2 separate regions of the Homo sapiens genome follow, and region 2 is linked to region 1. The links are contacts of gene promoters, found by promoter capture Hi-C in human tissues and cell types (Jung and others, 2019). All regions are on one chromosome and are shown on one strand. Each heading gives the region's core, a stretch centred on a gene start or on the middle of the fragment in contact. The rest is flanking DNA. Distances are from core to core; before and after follow the strand shown. Region 1 holds the start of LCE3D (late cornified envelope 3D). Region 2 has its middle 15 kb from the start of LINC00302.

Region 1 (3,870 bases), core at 517-3,016:
GAGCTTTAACTAACATATATAGTCAGGTAAACCCCACAACAACTAAGACATACAACAGTTCTATCACCTCAAAATATTCCCTCATCTGCTTATTAAATCAGCCTCTCCCTCATACCAGCCCTTGGCAACCACTGACCTATTTTCAGTTCTTATAATTTTGCCTTTTCAAGAATGCCCTATAATTAAAATTATATAATATGTAGTATGTAAAGTCTGACTTCTTTTGCATTTGAGATTCATCCCTGTTGTTTTATATATCAGTAGTTGATTCCTTTTTTATTGCTAAGTAGCCTTCCATTGCATAAATATACCATTTTTAAAACTCTATTCATCAGTTGAAGATCTTGTGGGGTTCTTCAAATTCAGGGCAGTTATGAATAAAGCCACTATAAATGTTGGGCTACAGGTTTTTCTGTGAACATACAACTATATTTCTTTTGGCTAAATATCTAAGAATAGGATTTCTGGGGCAAATTGTAAGTTGTATGTTTAATTTTTTTGATAGACTGCCAACTAATGTAATTTTGCATTTCTACCAGCAATGACTTGGGCTTCTTGTTGTTCTACATCCCTCATATTACTTGATATTGTCATTTATTTCATTTTAGCCATTCCAATGTGTATAGAGTGGTATCTCACTTTGCTTTTAAATTGCATTTCTCTAATGACTGATTAGGTTGAGTATCTTTTCATGTGCTTAACTGCCACCCATATATCTTCTTTGTTAAAATGACTCTTCAAATACTTTGCCCATATTTTCTGTGTTATTACCTATTTTTGAGAATTTAAAAAACATTGGCCGGGCACAGTGGCTCTGTAATCCCACCACTTTGGGAGGCCGAGGCGGGTGGATCACAGGTCAGGAGATAGAGACCATCCTGGCTAACACAGTGAAACCCCATCTCTACTAAAAATACAAAAAAATTAGCTGGGTGTGGTGGCAGGCGCCTGTAGACCCAGCTGCTTGGGAGGCTGAGCAGGGAGAATGGCGAGAACCCGGGAGGCAGAGCTTGCAGTGAGCCAAGATCGCGCCACTGCACTTCAGTCTGGACGACAGAGCAAGACTCCGTCTCAAAAAATAAAAATAAAAAAAAAATTCTTGAACCAAGTCCTTGGTAAGATTTGTGTTTTACAATATTGTCTCCAAGTCTGTGAATTTTCTTTGCATTTGCCTAGCAGTGCCTTTTGAAAAGCAGAAGTTTTTAATTTTGATGAAGTCCTATATTTCTTTTTTGAATTGTACCTTTTTGGCATATCTGAAAAATTTTGCATAACCCAAAGTCACAAAGATTTATTATGTTTTATTGCAGAAGTTTCATAGTTTAATTTTTTAAATTATGATCTATTAATTTTTATATCTAGCATTAGGTATGATTTCTTTTACATATGGACGTCCAATTATTTCATCTCTATTTGTTGAAATGACTATTATTTCTCCAGTCATGACTCAAGAAAGAATTATGTCATACTAATTCCCAGGAAATTGTAAAGGACAGACTGTGCTCCACAGCACGTGAGTTGAAACAAGGAAGAAGGGAGGAAGAAAAGAAGCAGTGGTAGCCTCCCAGGTGAGAGGTATGTGGACAGTGATCCTGCTTCCAGGTTCAATGTCATTGGTTGGATATTATGGAAGTGCCAAAGCTACAAACCTAGTCTTGGGCGTGTGCCTTGTTGACACCTCCCCTGGTTGTGAAAGCAGCAGCATGCCCAGGCTGTGCATCACACACCGTGCACAAGATAAAAGCACTCCTGCCCTGGGCTCCTCATCCACCGTCTCCTCAGGAACAGCCTTCTCCTGCCTCCTCTGCACCTGGTGAGTGTCCAGCAGGGGATGGGACTCAACTTGGGATGTTGGAACAGAAAACTAAGGTCATAGCAGGAGAGGGAAATGGAGAGATCTGAAACAAAAGCCCGGAGAGAGGATGGCAGAGAGGGTACCAATGTGGGAACTGGGGCCAGGAGGGAGACCCTGCAGGAACTGACAGCAATTCCATGACCTGCAAAGGCCACAGAAGCTTATGATTCCTTCCCATCCTCTTTCTACTCAGGCTGGCACATGTTTCCTATGATCTCCATTCTCCAGAATGCCTTTTGTCAAAAGGGTACATTCCTAGAGGCTCTTTGGAGAAACAGAAACATGGATGCCCACTTAGACTCACAGCAATCTGTCCCTGGTGGAGAACAAAGTGAGAGGCATCTGGCATGTCCCACCAACTCCACATCAGCTTCCCTCACCTTCCTGCAGCTCTTGCCTCAGGAGGCCGCTGGTCTTAGAGACATTGGACTGTAGATTTTGGACTAACAAATGGCTTTGTTTTGTCCAGGACAACTCAACTCCTGCCAAGATGTCCTGCCAGCAGAACCAGCAGCAGTGCCAACCCCCACCCAAGTGTCCCTCACCCAAGTGTCCCCCAAAGAGCCCAGTACAGTGTCTGCCTCCAGCTTCCTCTGGCTGTGCCCCAAGCTCTGGGGGCTGTGGCCCTAGCTCCGAGGGCGGCTGCTTCCTGAACCACCACAGGCGCCACCACCGATGCCGGCGCCAGAGGCCCAACTCCTGTGACAGGGGCAGTGGTCAGCAAGGCGGGGGCTCTGGCTGCGGCCATGGCTCTGGAGGCTGCTGCTGACCTGGATCCTGATGCTGAGACAAGCGATTTTGGAGGAAACAAGAATCCCAAGGGCCCAGGAAAACCCCATCTTGATGCATGAGTTCCCAGATACCCTCTTCTGGCTTTCACAGGCTGAGCTAGGGGTTTTCCTGTGGAAGGTCTGAGCTCTCCCCAGAAGGCACTTCCTGTCTGATGTCCAGGATGTCACATGTTCCCTTACCCCTGTACCTGTGAAGGATTGGCAGTGCTTGTGCCTGACCTCATCAAAAAATAAAGCTCCTTGTCCTCATTACCACTGGTGTCTCCCTTGGCATTTCACTCTGTCTCTCCCTAGGTGGGGCTGGAAGTGTGCCCTCCTGTCTGCCCCTGACATCCAGCACCACCACAGGGAAGATGCAGAATTCTAGCTCTAGGTCTGCAAAATTCAGGAATCTGTCGAGTCCTTTTCTGCTGGAATTGTGCGGCAGTGGGGGACAGGATGTGATGAGAGGGGTTGTAGTGAGGCCTCTAACTGTCAGAAAAGAATGACTGAAATGTGATTGTCCTCTCATAATGGACTCCCCAGTCGTAGGAGGAGCTAGCTACTAGATGTTTCTGACATCTCTATTACAAAACAGTGAAGATGTAGCAGGCAATTATCAAAAAAATAGGCAGAATTAGCATTTCTTCTAAAGGGGTAAATTTGACTCTCCAAGGGACATTTTTTGTTGTCAAAACTTAGAGGTAGAAAGAGAATTTCTGGCATCTAGTGGGTAGAGGCCAGGGATGCAGCTAAGCCTCCTACTAAGCATAGAACAGCCCCACAGTGGAGAATTATCTGCCCCAAGAAGTCCAATAATTGCAAGGCTGAAAACCTTTAGACTACAATTAAAAGATGGGTAAAGAAAAACATGGCCTCAGCTGTCTGTAATCCTAGCACTTTGGGAGGCTGAGGCAAGTGGATTACCTGAGGTCAGGAGTTTGAGACTGCCTGACCAACATGATGAAACCACATGTTATATGGTTAGTCTCTACTAAAAATACAAAAAAAAAAAATAGCTTGGCATAGTGGCAGATGCCTGTAATCCCAGCTACTCAGGAGGCTGAGGCAGGAGAATTGCTTGAACCTGGGAGGCAGAGGTTGCAGTGAGCCTGTTGTACCACTGCACTCCAGCCTGGGCAACAAGAGTGAAACTCCATTTCAAAAAGAAAAGAAAGAAAAGAAAAGAAAAAAGAAAAAGCTGGTCTCAGGAAAAACAGATAACTCCACATACACAATTAAATC
Region 2 (3,874 bases), core at 642-3,141, 60 kb before region 1:
ACAATGCACCTATTCAGCAAAGAGCTCTGATAGAGATGTACAAGATTAATCTTGTTTTCATGCCTGCTAAGACAACATCTGTTATGAAGTCCATGAATCAAGAAGTAATTTGTTTTTTTGTTTTTTTTTGTTTGTTTTTGTTTTTGTTTTTTTCTTGAGACAGAGACTCGCACTGTTGCCCAGGCTGGAGTGCAGTGGTGCGATCTTGGCTCACTGCAAGCTCCACCTCCTGGGCTCACGCCATTCTCCTGCCTCAGCCTCCTGAGTAGCTGGGACTACAGGCGCCCGCCACCATGCCTAGCTAATTTTTTGTTCTTTTAGTAGAGATGGGGTTTCACCATGTTAGCCAGGATGGTCTCAATCTCCTGACCTGATCTGCCCACCTCGGCCTCCCAAAGTGCTGGGATTACAGGCGTGAGCCACCAAGCCTGGCCATAATTTCAGTTTTTAAGCATCATTATTATATAAGAAAAACATTTTGTAAGGCTATAGCTACCATAGACAGTGATTCCTCTGATGTGTCTGAGCTAAATCAATTGAAAACCTTCTAGAAAGGATGCCCCATTCTAGATACCATTAAGAAAATTCATGATTCATAGGACAATGTCAAAATATCAACATAAACAAGAGTTTGGAAGAAGTTGATTCCAACCCTCATGGATGACTTTGAGGGATTCAAGACTTCAGCGGAGAAAGTAACTGTATATGTGATGGACATAGGAAGAGAAATACAAGTGGAGTCAGAAGATGGGACTGAATTGCTGCAATCTTATGACAAAATTTGAATGGATGTGGAGCTGCTTCTTATGGATGAACAAAGAAAGTGGTTTCTTGACATGGAATCTACTCCTGTGAAGATACTGTGATCATTATTGAATGACAACAAAGGATTTAAAATATTACATGAACTTTGTGATAAAGCAGCGGCAAGGTTTGAGAGGATTGACTCAAATTTTGAAAGCAGTTCCACTGTAAGTAAAATGTTATCAAACAGCATCACATGCTACAGAGAAATCTTTTGTGAAAGGAAGTGTCAATCAATGCAGCAAATGTCATTGTTGTCTTATTTCAGAAAATTGTCACAACTACCCCACCTTCGGCAGCCACCACCCTGATCAATCAGTGACCATCAAGACAAGACCCTGCATCCGCAAAAATATTATAACTCAATGAAGGCTCACATTATGGTGTATTTTTAATTAAGATATCCTCATTATTTCTTAAATTTAATGCTATTGCACACTTAATAGACTGTAGTATAGTGTGAACATAACTTTCACATGCACCGAGAAGACAAAAAATTCGTTTGACTTGGTTTATTGCAATATTTGCTTTATTGCAGTGGTCTGGAACTGAACTCACAGTATCTTCGAAATATGCCTGTAGAGTAAATCCAGTTAACTGTAGAATTTTATTTTGCAAGCTGGTGAAACATCCTTTTGTTTAAACCTTCTCCTATTACAGAGCTCAATCTCTCTTCTCAATCTGTGTTGAATATATATTTGCACAATACCAGATTGAAATTACCCGTAAAATGAGTTTGTCCAGATGCCTATGTGTCTCTGTCTAGTCTGGCCGATTACCTGGTGGTTAAGAGCATAGACTCTGAACCAAACTTCTGGGGTTTGAATTCCAGTCCTGCCACTTAGTAGCTGTGTGAACCTCTCTGAGCCTGAGATTACTAAAATGATAATAATAATGTCTTCCTTGAAGAGCTGTTGTGAGTTAAACAGGTTAATATATGTAACATGCTAACAGCAGAGACTGTCCTAAAATGAAGCCTGTATTTGTCGTTGTTGCTGCTGGTGTTTTGCTGTGAAAAGTGAGTCTGGGTTGCCAGAAAGTCTAGACTAGGAAGCTGAACCAATGTCTCATTTCCATTTGGACTTACTCAACAATCATACCCACCACAGGAGGCCACAGCTGAAGGCCATCACCCTTGTTGCTTTTCTTGCTTGCCAGGGGCCAAGAACAGGTGAGAGCTGAGAATACATTTTTAGAACACCCACAGCCCTCAAGATCTAACCAGAATATCTGTTTTCTTTCCAAGCTTAATCCTCTGGCCATGATAGGGCCTATGACTCAGGAAAATGTTGGGGAAATAGCTCAAGTACCAACAGGGAAATAAAGACAACTTTCCCTAGTGTCAAACTGAGAAGAGTCTATGTAGAGAAAATTCCAGACCCAGATTGGGCTGAGATTCGATAACAGAGTGGCTCTGCATGTTATACAGCTATCTGCTCCTCCCTATGCCACTGCACATGCCACAGACTGGCCTTTGCCTATCTCCTGTACTAGAAAAATAACTGGTTGGGTGGCCATTCTGCCTATAGCTTACCCCAACCAAAAAGAAAAAAAAAAAACCTTCCATACTGCAACAGTAACCATTTAGGATTCTTTTTCAATCAACTTTAAAATTGTAAAAATAGTTTGGAAACTATGGGGATATAGAAAGAATAGATTAATAATCATCCCCACATATCCTGCCACCCAGATAGTACTATTGACACCCCTGCTTATTGGTACCAGAGCACACCTTTCATCCTACTGCCTTCAGGCACAAACTCATGCTATCTTTGGGCCTTGAAAACCTTCCTCCCTTTTAATTTTAATTAAATAAAAATTTACTGCCTCCAATTAGTCAAAGCTCATTGAGGGCAGAAATCAAGACCTATTAAACTGTCTCTGTCACCCAGCTCTAGCACAGACCTGAGTACAGAGCCAAGGAGAAGATATGCTGATTGGTCAACTGGTTGCCATGAATCCCTTCAAAAGCTTCTCTCCAGTAACATACAGTGGACCCATATATGGAAGACGCTCATACTAATTGTTAGTGTTTTGCTGTTGGGGCAAAAAAAATAGAAAGATATAAAGGAATGTGGACATTTCTATGGTTAAGAATGCCAATTAAACACTCTAACCCCACAACCACATCATAAGATGTCACCTAGACATGGGGTTTTTGTCAGTATCATCACCTTTGTCATGTTAAATATCATCAACGTAAGGGGGAAGCTCTTTAAATAGTAAATATATTTCTAAAATTTTTTTGGGGGGGAGGCACAACAAAAGCTCATCCATTTATTCATTGACCAGTTATTTATTGAGTGCCAAATTTATGCCAGAAACTATTAAGTGATTTCTTAGTCTATTTTCTGCTGCCATGACAGAGTACCAAACACTAGTTAATTTTTTTTATGTCTCACTTGTAAGTGGGAGCTAAACAATGAGAACACACGGATGCAAAGAGGGCAACAACAGACACCAGAGCCTACTTGAGGATGGAGACTGGGAGAAGAGAGAGAATCAAAAAAAGTACCTCTCAGCTACTATACTTATCACCTGGGTGACTAAATAATCTGTACACCAAACCCCCACAACATGCAATTTGGCTATATAACAATCCTGCACATGTACTCCTAAACCTAAAATAAAAGTTAGGAAAAAAAAGACTGGATAATTTAAACACAATAGTTTATTTGGCTTACAGTTCTGGAGGCTGGGAAGTCCAAGAGCATGGTGCTAGTATCTGGTAAGGGTTATTCTGTGGCAGAAGGCAGAAGGCAGAAGGCCAAGTGAATATATGAGACAGAGAGAAAATGGGGACTGAATTTATTCCTTTATCAGGAACCCACTCCTGCAACAACTAGCCCACTCCCATGACAACAGCACTAATCCACTCATGATGGTGGAGCCCTCATGGCCCAATCACCTCTGAAAGGCCCAAATTTTCAACACTGTTACAATGGCAACCAAATTGCAACATGAGTGTTGGAGGGGACATTTAAACTATAGCAGAAAAACAAAACAATTTTAGTCTCTATCCTCATGGAGGTAATAAACTCATGGCTAAAGCAGCCAATTATGCAAGAAA

The links. The method cuts DNA at HindIII sites, captures the fragments that hold promoters and counts their contacts. A contact is called where the count stands out against the background at its distance.
Region 2: a contact is called between a fragment that was not itself captured here and the fragment with the promoter of LCE3D in region 1, in 2 of the 25 tissues and cell types used here (lymphoblastoid cells and neural progenitor cells).

The regions. Positions count from the first base shown.
Region 1 is chr1:152,578,412-152,582,281 of GRCh38, reverse strand. LCE3D (late cornified envelope 3D) reads left to right here and starts at 1,766. Exons shown (of 2, transcript NM_032563.2): 1 at 1,766-1,813; 2 at 2,325-2,901. The coding sequence starts at 2,346. The coding sequence ends at 2,624. The HindIII fragment of the contact is 3,963 bases long and covers 1-2,962 here.
Region 2 is chr1:152,638,664-152,642,537 of GRCh38, reverse strand. No RefSeq gene overlaps it. Among named protein-coding and RNA genes, the nearest start is that of LINC00302, 15 kb to the left of the region's middle. The HindIII fragment of the contact is 5,806 bases long and covers 1-3,874 here.